Linked DNA regions of Homo sapiens: region 1 is linked to region 2. Evidence: promoter capture Hi-C in human tissues and cell types (Jung and others, 2019). All regions are on one chromosome and are shown on one strand. The core of a region is centred on a gene start or on the middle of the fragment in contact, and the rest is flanking DNA. Distances in the headings are between cores, read along the strand shown.

Region 1 (5,968 bases), core at 3,364-5,863, 340 kb after region 2:
AAAAGTTTAATACAACAGAAAGGAATCATAATACTGACACAGAACAGATTCATGAGCTATTTAGTCCAAACTTTTCATTTTACAGATCAGAAATTTAAGGTTAAAAGTGAATTTGCCCAGGGTCTCATAACTGTTCAGTAACGGAGATGAGAGCCCACATCCACTGACTTCTACTCGGAGGCTTCGTGCACTCCACTCTGCTTGTGTTCCCTCCTTCATTTACCTTCTGCCAATCTTAGGACTAGCTGTGAAGGCAACGAAGGAGCAACTCCCACTCTTGGTACATACATGACCAGTAAACATTAAAAAAAAAAAAAAAAAATCACGCTCTCCTACTACCTTTCAGCTGCAGGAGTACTATCTTTTCAAGTCCAATCCAAAAGCCTGTCTCAGTCCACATGAACTAAACTGCAATTTCAAGTGAAAATAAATACACACCAATGCTGTAACTCAGTTTCAATTTGTATCTAATTAAAGTTTGCTATGTTATGATCAGGATGGAAATTTTGCTTTTAATATTTTGTGAAGTAGTAGGGAAGGTAACTGGATTATGACATTAATAAACGAAGACTAGTTACTGATAAACACACTGTTTCAGGGGTTTATTATTACAACAGCCTAACTTCTAGTCAACAGAAAGGGTGCTGCTGTACTATGTTTATTTAGATGGCAAAGTACAGTAGTATGAACATTACCTGAGAGAATCCTTAGAAAAATGGGATACTGACACTACAGAGGGAAGGGGAAAGGCAAAAAATGGACCTCTGATTTCTTACAGTGCTCAATAAAACAAAACCTCAATTCTACTTCCTAATTGTCATACAAAGGAAGTTAGGAACCAACAGCAGTGAAGGACAAGTCTCCTATGGCTAAGGGAGTTCAAACAGCAAAGTCATCTGGAAGTTCTGTTACCTAGTTTTAGAAGTATTAACATAGGTGTTGTTACATAGGCAAGTTATAGTCATTATTCACTGAAGGCGAACCAGAGTTTAAAGAGGTTAGAATCATTTTGGATCATATAACCATTTCTTCATGAATCCAGATAAGACTTGATACAGAGCTATGAGTGAGTTCTGAGAAGCAGTCTTTAGAATTCTATGTCAGCCCAGGGTGAACCCTAAACTTCCCTTTTGGAACTTTATCATTGATTAGTAAGGCTATGTTAAAAAAAAAAAAAAAGTGCTTGCTTCTACACTGAAAACTACCAGCTCAGAGGTTTACCACTACTCAATGCATACCATCAACTCATACTGGATTGCCTCAAACACCACATAAAAAGCTTACCCATGGAACAGAGCTCATTCAAGTCCAATTCAGAAAAAATACTCAAGTTTAATGTAAGGAGTCAACCACTCTTCTCATAATGAAGCAGCAACTACTGTTCAGGAAAAAGTTTTAAAGACAAAAACCCCTTATAAATATGATCCTATTTGAAATAACTGCAATTCCTTGACAGGCTTTACATTATATACTAGTGTTAAGAAAAATAAAACAGTAGTTTACAATTATCTCATAATGCCAGTAGATAAGAAAACGTTTAGCCCCTGATTAAAACTTTAAAAGTGATTTGTCAAAGACCAACAGATAAAATATTCTGGTGCCCAGACATTAGGTCCCTGAATCCAGGTGGCTCTCTTTCTAACCAGTCTCTTGAAAAACTATGATTGGAAGCTGTCAGCATAAAACTTTGCTTTTGAATATGTGATAATATTTGGAATGTGAATGCTTAGTCCTTCTATACAAAATAAATAAGCATACTGAACAAGAAGAAAATGCTTCTTAGGATCCCCTTAAAATGGACTAACTTCTCCTAATAGAGACTTTCTTATTAAACTCAAATATACATGGGGCTAAAATGCTACATATAACCAGGCAAGTCTCAATTTTGAAAATAAGCAGGTAAATGAAATGTCAGTTTTTTCTTTTTTTTCTTTTTTTTTTTTTTTGCTGCTGTATCTTTTAAAAAAGCAAAATCAACTCACATTTAAGCACCAACTCCATGCAAGTAACCTGAACGGTTCAGTCTTTTTGTCATGTATGTGGCCTTTGGTTCTCCAACTACATGGGATCTGTGTTGTTAGCTTAAAAAATACAGAATTGGCCTTTCAAAAAAAAATAATAATCTACAGCAACCAATAAATAGTCTCAAACAACCCTGCTGACTGCAGCTGCCTTCTGAAGGCTGGGAAAAGGAGGTGGAGATAGAGCAGAAAGAGGCAGGGAAAGGGGACGCTGCAGCTAGCTACATAGCAAGGAACACGCCCCCATCATGTCCTCCTTGCTCTGTCAGAAGGCGGGTTGTTGTCAGTCTCCTGATCAGGCTGCCTTAGAAACGATTAAAAAAAAGGAGGCAGGAAGACTAACAACTAAAAAATGCCAGCTCCTTGAAAGGAGGGGCCAGGGTCCTTGGGATCTCCTCCCTCCCCTTCTTCCCAGGATCTTTCCGTAAATCTAAAGGGGTGCGGGGCACAATAGGGGACAAGGGGTTTGCCCAGGATATTTTGTGTGCACCAACGGCAGAGCACGCAGGAAACGGCTGGTTGTTATCTTTCCCTTTCTGTTTCAATCAAGAGCACTCCAGAGCAGCAACCCCCTACCCCCCTTCGCTTCAGCCCCTAGCAGCTGCTCTTCCTCCTCCTAGCATCCCCCATGCCATCCTCCCCCCTCTACAATTCGAACTCCCCCCTTCTGCATCCAATGGAAAACAAATGCGCAACGCCACTGGCTGAACCTGAACTCAACTTCCCTTCCTTGGGCAACTTTCCTTTTTGCTGAAGGGGGCCGAATAATGTTTATAGAAGCAACTCCGTTCTTGCCCCAGTACTAATGGGGAAGGGGCAACGCTCTGACCCTTCATCCACCTTGGGTCCCCTTACAAGAATCAGAGACAACCCCAAGTCCTTTCTAAGGAATAACTTTGCTTGATAATCCTTTTTCTCCCATCCCAAAGCAACCACCGCCACCACACTAAAGTATAACTGTCCCTTATCTACTCTCCTCACCCCAACCTGGCTTCCCCCACCCCTTCCAAGCCCCAGGATTGGCCTAGGAAAAGGTGGATCAATAATGAAATGACGAGAAGAGAAGGGCGGGAGGGAGCTCGGGTTGGAGACTGCGTGCTCTCAGGCGCAGTGGGTGGGGTAGGAGAGCAGCTGCTTCCCCTGGGAGGATGCTGCCTCAGTCCCCCAACAAACACCTCCCCTCACAGGGGCCCCCTTCCCCAGAGCTGGAGGGAAAGCCTGCCTCCTCTCCAAGGGGAGTGGTGGAAAGCTGCTCTTCTCTAAGCCTAGGGGACAGTGGACTATTTTCCCCTCCAAGATGCCACTAATCCTTCATTCTAAAGGAGGGAAAGGGTGGAGTGAAGGTAGAGTAATTCCCGGCTACCAATAGGCTAGAAACTGTAGCCCTGTAAGACGGGGCGGGGGGGGGAAGAGACTGCTGTATGAGGAATCACCGTTATCTTCAGAGGGAAAGGAGGTGAGACCAGGCAAGGTGCAGAGGAGAGATTTTCCCCGGTGGGGTAGGGCGGGATGGGGGAGGATCGGTCTGCTTGGGGTGGGGGTAGAGGGTGGAGGTGAAGGAAGGGGGAGTGGCTGGCAGTATAGGGACCTGGCCCGGGGATGGCGCGAGGGTTCATCGGGTTTTCGAAAGCAAGGTGCTGGAAGGGACACGATCCCCAAGGGCCAGGAGAACGTGGCCCTGGATGAGGCCATCACCCGAGAGACGCCCGAGAGGAAAACTGCCCTAGGAGTAACACATCTGCCCAGAGAGGGAGGCGGGGATGTGGCGGGATCAGGTCTCTAGGAGGGAGGGAGGGAGGAATCTTGCTCGGATGAGGTAATCTGTGAAAGGGAGGAGGGGTTCAGTCCCGGGATGGGAAACCCCGGCGAGGGGGTCTGTGCCAAGGGATTTGGGGAAGGGTCAGGGGGAGGAGAGCGGGGGGCAAACGCCCTCAGCCAGATGGGCCCAAACCCCGGGGTGGGGGCGCCTGGGGGTCTGCAGCCCTGCATGGGGGTCCCAAGATGGGAGAGCCATTCGCCCCGGGTCAGGGACCCCGAGATGGTCCCAGAATTGGGATGCTCCTCAATCCCGGATGGGGGAGGGGAGGGGGCTCCGCAGAGGGTCGAGACCCCGGACCTGGGGGTTCCTCGCCCCCTTACCTCTCCGCTGCCGCCTCCCCCGCCGCTCTCCCCAAACACGGCCCGGAACCGGCGCAGGTTGGTGCCGATGGCGGCCGAGACCTGCAGCGCCGCGTCGAAGCCCGGGCCCACCCGGAGCAGGGCCGGCCCTGAAGAGGCTGAGGACGATGACGAAGACGAAGACGAGGCGGACGACGAGGAGGCTGCTGAGGCGGCGGCCGCTCCCCCTGGAACCCCAGCCCCGCTGCTTCCCGCCGCCGCCGCCGCGGCCGCCACAGCCGGGGGGGAGGGGGGCGCCCCGGGGCCGCCACCGCCGACCGGGGGCCCGGGGGGAAGCAGCAGGGCCGGGACGCGTTGCCGCGGGGCGCCCCCTAGGCCCCGGCGCCCCCCGCCGCCGCCGCCCCCGGTGGTCCCGGGTCGGGCGGGGAAGCGCCACCGACAGCTGTGCGCCATGTTCGCCCCGTGAAGTGAAGCAGCGAGAGGGAGAGGCGACAACACAGGGGGGCGGGGAGGCGGAGGGGGGGGCACGGGGCCCCGGAACCTGCCTAACCAGCTCTGCGCCGCCCGGCCGCCTGCACCCTGCCGGCCGCTATGCAGAGCGCCGGGCCGCGCCCGCCAGCCCCGCAATCTGTATAGCGGCCTCGGGCCTCCGCCTCTGACGCCTGGGCGCTGCAACTCCATCCCGAGGCCCGGGCCGCCGCCTCCTGCCCGCCCGCCGGCCCCGCAACCTGGATAACTGCATGCCCCGCCCTCCGGGAGAGGCATTGCTCGGGAAAAGGAGGGGGGAAGGAAGCCCGGGAGCCCGGAGCAGAGCGCGGGTTCCGGAGAGAGGGGGAGGGGGCGAGGACTACGCGGAGGATGGAGGCGTAGGGAGCCGGGCCGCCTGCAGCCTTGAGCGCCGAGAGGCCGATTACACACGTTCCCGGGACGCGCTGGGAATCGAACAGCCCGGGAGAGCAGCTTCCAGTATAACGCGGCGGCTGGGTCGGGGAGCAGTGAGCCTTCTCCTCCGCCCCAGGGCACGGATACAAGATGGGTTAGCCCGAATTGAACGCTTCTAGAATAAAAGAGCCCTTATTGTACTACATGCAAAACAGAAGCGCTGCCCAGTTTACTATATGCAAAACAGAAAGGCCCTCAATGAACGCACTTTAAAAAATAAAAAAGGAGCCCCTCCCATTTTCATGCTGGAGCTCTTTCCAAAAAGCACACACCGAGTGGCAGGTCTCCTGCCACCTCCTCGCTCTACTGTGCACTCGTCTGGCTTTCGTGCCCTTCTGCAGGGAGTTGGGTTGTGTTTCTCCAGCCCGGGCACTGAGGCCACGGCGTGCTCCGCTAACGACGCGGTGTTACAACGAAGCTGAAGCTGGGTGGCTAACGGGGCCTGGAGGGAAGAGGCGGGCAAAAGCGCCCCCGCCCCTTCTTCCTCCGGTCTCTGCCTGCCGCTGCATGCAAAGCAGACCCTAATGTATGCACGCAGAGGGAGGGGGGCTCGCGAGCACGTTTCTGATTAAGAGAGGGGGAGGAGGAGAGCGTTGGGCATTATGATACACTGGGTGGAAGGGGCCCGCCGGCGGCGAGCTCTGTGCGCGGGGTTAGTAAGCTGAGGGGGGAGGGGGAAAGAAGGAGGCGAGTTAGGGAGGGGAATGAATATCCACCGGGTTTACTTTATTGCGGGAAAGAGGGGAGGGCGCCTCGAGCATAGCGTTAGACGCCTGCAAGGCTGGGAAAGCCGAGAGGGTAGGGAGGGGTTTGTGTCGGGAGAACTTGCGTTGGCTGAGGCTGGGGGATCGATACACAGCCTGCAGGCCCCGGGGCAGCCTCCATCC
Region 2 (5,800 bases), core at 2,466-4,965:
AGAAAGTGTTTGACCTTGGGAATTCTATAATGAATAAGACAGATATATGGTTGCTGTCTTACAGTCTGGAAAGGACAGCTAATTGTACAGGTAATTCACTGTAATATGATGAGTACCTTTCTAGTTGGAATTGCGTATGTATGTAGTCATTAGAGGAAGATGGGACAACCTGGAAGAATTGAGCTGTGTTCCAAGCAGAGAACGCTGGGTAATGATTGCCCAGAGTTGAGAGTGTGCTTTTGGCTGGATAAAGTATCAAAACAAGGATATGCATCATCAGAGGGGTAATTTGGGTGTAGGTATTAGAAATACCTAGGAATCTACTATGATGTAGTTCATGTTAAGCCATTTTATCTACACTGAAGTCTTTTTTTTTCTTTCTTTTTTTTTTTTTTGAGACAGAGCCTTACTCTGTTGCCAGGCTGGAGTGCAGTGGCGCGATGTCCACTCACTGCAATCTCCGACTCCTGGGTTCACGCGATTCCCCTGCCTCAGCCTCCCGAATAGCGGGGACTACAGGCGTGCACCACAGCACCCGGCTAATTTTTTGTGTTTTAGTAGAGATGGGGTTTCACCATGTTAGCCAGGATGGTCTCGATCTCCTGACCTTGTGATCTGCCTGCTTCAGTCTCCCAAAGTGTTGGGATTACAGACGTGAGCCAACACACCTGGCCCACTGAGGTCTTATGAGAGTTCCTTTACAGTAGGAACTGCATCATTCAACTTTTATCTCTAGTACTTAGCATAGTGCCTGTGCTTATTTAGCGTGCTTTGATGAAACTTAGGTAACTCATGTCTGCAGGTGAACTTGGTGTAGGGAACTGCCCAGATTAAATCCCAGCTCTACTCCTTCATAAATTGGTTATTTGGGATCTATAAGTCTTAGACTCCTGACCTATATAATTGAGGTAATAGTATAATACCATAGGGTTGTTGTAAAGATTAAGTGAGATAATTCACATGCTTAGTACAATGCCTAGTACGTGATAAATGCTCAAAAATGTTATGGGTTATTTTATATAATAGTTTCAAAAAAGGAAATTAGTTAATTTAGGAGACGTAATTGTTTTAAATTTGTTTTAAAGAGACTGAGTCTTGCTAAGTTGCCTGGGCTGGATGCAGTGTCAGAATCTTAGCTCACTGCAGCCTCAAACTCCTGGGCTCACGTGATACTCCTGCCCCAGCCTCCTGAGTAAGGATGATAGTGTAGTACCAGCACACCTGGTTGTTTTTTGTTTTTGTTTTTGTTTTTGTTTTTGGTAGAGTCAAGGTTTTGCCATGTTGACCAGGCTGGTCTTGACCTCCTGGGCTCAAGCAGTCCTCCTGCCTTGGCTTCCCAATGTGCTAGAATTATAGATGTGAACCACTGCACTTAGCCCAGTCCTCATTCTTAGTGGATATTTGCTGACTCCTATTTCTTACCTTGTATTAAAATTTAAAATTAACTTTGTTACTTGTACTCTGAGTGTTGTTATAGCATATAGGCAATTAACTCTTCAGCCACTTAACCAATCTGACATCCAGCTTTTTCTGTAAAGTAGAAATAAGTACTCTCCCTCACAGGATTTTTATTGTTAAGATCAAATGTAGTGTACAACCAAAGTATTTTGAAATAGCAAGGTATTGTATGAGTATATTGTTTTAGATACTCAAGGTCACCACTTGTATTGCCTTTTTCTTTTTTTTTATTGCCTTTTTCTTTCCTATTGTTTTGTCCTGGGGATCCATGGAAAGCACAAGATTATGTGTTTCTTAGAATCAATCAGAGTTACAAGTCACAAATATTAGGATTTTAGAACCGAAACAAAATTTACAGATCCCCTAGTAAAAAAATTTTTTAAATTTTTATTTTCATAGGTTTTTTGGGGGAACAGGTGGTGTTTGGTTACATGAGTAAATTCTTTTGTTTTTGAGACAGGGTTTTGCTCTGTCGCTCAGGCTGGAGTGCAATGGTGTGCTCTCGGCTTACTGCAACCTCTGCCTCCCGGGTTCAAGCGATTCTCGTGCCTCGGCCTCCCAAGTGACTTGGGATTACAGGCGGGCACCAGCATACCCGGCTGATTTTTGTATTTCTGGTGGAGACGGGGTTTCACCATGTTGTCCAGGTTGGTCTTGAACTCCTGACCTCAGGCGATCCACTCTCCTCGGCCTCCCAAAGTACTGGAATTACAGGCGTGAGCCACCACGCCTGGCCAAGTAAATTATTTAGTTGCTATTTCTGAGATTTGGGTGCACCCATCACCCCCCTGGTAAAATATAACCTCATGGCAGGCTGTCTTCTAGTATTCTTTCCATTCTTATCTACCTTCTCGTTTTATTTTTGTCATCCCTCCCCCATTCCTAAAAGTATCTCTTCTATCATGCTTGGTTTTACAGTTTTATCCAGGCATTTTTTTTCCCCTAAATATTAAAACTGCCTTGATTAGATGGGTGAGTCTTCTGCATTTGAATATTTGTTTGAGATGGAATTTAGTTGCAGTTTGGCTGTGAGATTTGGAGAATTGGCTGGGTGCAGTGGCTCATGCCTATAATCCCAGCACTTTGGGAAGCCAAGGTGGGTGGATTGCTTGAGTCCAGGGGTTCAAAACCAGCCTAAACAACATGACAAAACCCTGACTGTACAAAAATTAGCTGGGCATGGGGGACATGTAGTCTTAGATGTTCAGGAGGTTGAGGCTGTAAGTGAGCCAGGATTGTGTCACTGCACTCCATCCTGGGCAACAGAGCAAGACCCTGTCTCACAAAAAAAAAAAAAAAAAAAAGACTGTTAGAGAATTAGGCACTTAAAATTATATGCTCTCAAAAGAGCTTTTACATTGACAGGCTGGAACCAGATATACTACAGATTGCTCCCACAACGTATTTCTAGAGCCATCTGTGACCAGTTCTAGGTCTGGATGCTGTGGCCAGTAGAATAATTGCCATTCTAAAGGTATAGCTTTATAGGAACCTAGACTTCTTTGGAAGGCTTAAGAATATACTGTTTTTGTCTGCTTAGCATTATTTGAAACTTTATATTAACTTTGGGGTTATGATTGAGAAAGATGGCCTCTCTCGTTGCTTCTAAACCCTGGGAACACCTCTTGAAGACTTTTTCGAAACTCTAAGAAGGTGAAGAAATGAGAAGTAGTTGATTATTGAGGGAAACATGGAAGCTCCGTACTGTTGGCAACAAAATTTTGTGCCAGGTCAGCTAAGGTCTAATGAGGATTAATAGTTTACTATTTATAGTTAGGAATTATAGCATTCTGAATCCTGTAAATAAGTCATTCTTCCTGCTAACAATCGGTTTATCATGATTGAAAAAAATATTTCCTAAAAACTCAAAGGTTTTTTTTGTTTGTTTGTTTTGTTTTTTTTTTTGGTGTGTGTTTTGTTTTGTTTTCTTTTTGGGTGGGGTCGGGGAGACAGAGTCTCAGTTTGTCACACTGGCTGGTCTTGAACTCCTGGCCTCAAGCAGTTCTCCTGCCTCAGCCTTGCAGAGGGTTGAGATTACAGGTGTGAGCCACCATCCCCAGCCTAAATTAGAGATATAATTAGAAATTACCATCTCCCTTTTTTTTTTTCCTGTTAAGCAGGGGACATTTGTAACAATCATTGCTACCTCGTCTGGAGTAACCATAGGTTGTTTTTTTGTTTTGTTTTATTTTGTTTTGAGACAGAGTCTCGCTCTGTCGCCCAGGCTGGAGTGCAGTGGTGCAATCTTGGCTCACTGCAAGTTCTGCCTCCTGGGTTCACGCCATTCCCCTACCTCAGCCTCCCAAGTGGCTGGGACTGCAGGCGCCTGCCACCACGCCCGGCTAATTTTTTTGTATTTTTTTAGTAGAGACGGGGTTTCACCATGTTAGCCAGGATGGTCTCCATCTCCTGACCTCATGGTCTGCCCACCTCGGCCTCCCAAAGTGTTGGGATTACAGGCGTGAGCCACCGCGCCCGGCCTTTAACCATAGGTTTTTTTTCCCTCTTGGAAATTAAGGTTTGGAAAATAAGAGGAAGCAGTCAGTGTAAATGCAGCTAGTTGGGTGATGTTGAGCTTTTGTTGGTACCACACTTTTGTAAAATGCCTCTCAATGCTAGGAGATTGGAAAATAAACCATTCTTTAATTATAGGCATCAGAAACCAACTCGATCTAACTTAAGCAAAAGGAAATTTATTGGAAAAATAACGGGAATTCACAAGATTGAGAAGGCTAGAGAAACATACTTGGAAATGACTAAGAATTGAGATAGCTCTGAAGGACTTAGGAAGCTGTAATGGATGCACTATAACAATTTAGATTCTTAGGAGGCAACATTCCGCTGGCCCAGTGTGGGCTATGTGTCTACCACTTGGCTTAGAAAATTGGTGAGGCTTGGTCTGTTGGGACAGGGGAGACCAGGGCATATGTAATTCCTTAGAAGGAAATTGGGGTGTTACTTAGTAAAGGGATACTAGAGTAACCAAAACACAACAAATACTCTTCAGTCATTATCTAAACGTTACAGTGAATGTGAATTTGGAGACCTAAGGTGGCAGATGTCAGCCCTAAGCTTGTGGGGTTGGTTTTTTGGGGTTTTGTTTTTTGGGGGTAATAGCTTTATTGAGATATAAATGACATCACACATCAAAAGTATACAATTTAATGCTTTTTAGTGCATTTAGAGTTCTGCAACCATTACCACAATAAATTTTAGAACATTTTGATCAGTCCCACAAAAGAAACCCTTTTAGCAGTCACACCTCATTTTCCCACACCCCTAAACAACCACTGGTATACTTTCTGTCATTCTAGCTTTGCCTAGTCTGGACATGTCATATAAATAGAATCCTATAGTATGTGTTTTTTTTGTGACTGGCTTCTTTGACTTAGCGTAATGTTTTCCGAGTTCATCTGTGTTGTAGCTTGTATCAATATTCCATTCCTTTTTCCTGAATAATATTTTATTGTATGGCTCTATTACTTCTGATTTATCCAGTCATCAGTTGGTAGACATTTGGGGTTGTTTTCCAAGGACTGAGGATTTAATGTGCTATTTTGTGAAAATCTGAGAAGTAGGAAGGGGATTTAATGATCTCAACTGTCATCCGTCTGAAAAACCTAACTTGTGATTTTAAATAAAATAGCAGGCTGCCTTCCCCTGTTCCCTTTTTAAAATAGGAACTGACCCTGCTTTAACCTTATGAAGTTTTATTTATGAATAAAGTTTGTACTATTATAAAAAAAAACATAGAAGGAACTGGCTATTAAGGATAATGCTGCTATGAAAATTCAGGTGCAGGTTTTTGTGTGGAGATGTTTTTATTTCTCTTCGCTGTATACCTAGAATTGCTAGTTCATATGGTAACTCTTTTTAACCTTTTGAGGAACTGCAAGGCTGGTTTCCAGCGTAGCTGTACATTCCCACTAGCAGTGTATGAGAGTTCCATTTTCTCCAACTTCTTGCCTACATGTTATGTGCAGATCTAAGTTCAAATACTGGCTAAAGCATTTCTTGCTTTGTGACCTTGGGCAAACTAATCCTGTTTAGGATCCATTTTGTCAGTTGTAAAACAAAGTACCTAACTTGAAAGTTGTGCTGAGCACATAGTAAGTTTTAAAAAAAGTTTTCGTTTCCTTCCTCCTTTGCCTTCTCCCTGGCAGTTCCTCATAATTTCCTCTTGTATTTCACAGCTTTTTGAACTTGACTTGAATTCTCTTGCTTTTCATTATTTCCTGAGAAACACTGGTAAGAGGCAGTGTGGATGTGCTGAATTCACTGACTGTTAATCATAATGGCCATCATATAAGGCAAAATATCAGGGTGTCTTAACTTACAGTCT

What was found. The method cuts DNA at HindIII sites, captures the fragments that hold promoters and counts their contacts. A contact is called where the count stands out against the background at its distance.
Region 1: the fragment with the promoter of KMT2A here is called in contact with a fragment that was not itself captured in region 2 in 1 of the 25 tissues and cell types used here (adrenal gland).

The regions. Positions count from the first base shown.
Region 1 is chr11:118,435,137-118,441,104 of GRCh38, reverse strand. It overlaps KMT2A (lysine methyltransferase 2A), which reads right to left and starts at 4,613. Exons shown (of 36, transcript NM_001197104.2): 1 at 4,161-4,613. The coding sequence starts at 4,592. RefSeq lists enhancers at 2,647-3,644, 3,645-4,643, 5,305-5,444, 4,644-5,641 and a silencer at 4,515-4,994. The HindIII fragment of the contact is 10,858 bases long and covers 71-5,968 here.
Region 2 is chr11:118,771,427-118,777,226 of GRCh38, reverse strand. All of the region lies in intron 4 of DDX6 (DEAD-box helicase 6), which reads left to right. Among named protein-coding and RNA genes, the nearest start is that of DDX6, 17 kb to the left of the region's middle. The HindIII fragment of the contact is 5,946 bases long and covers 743-5,800 here.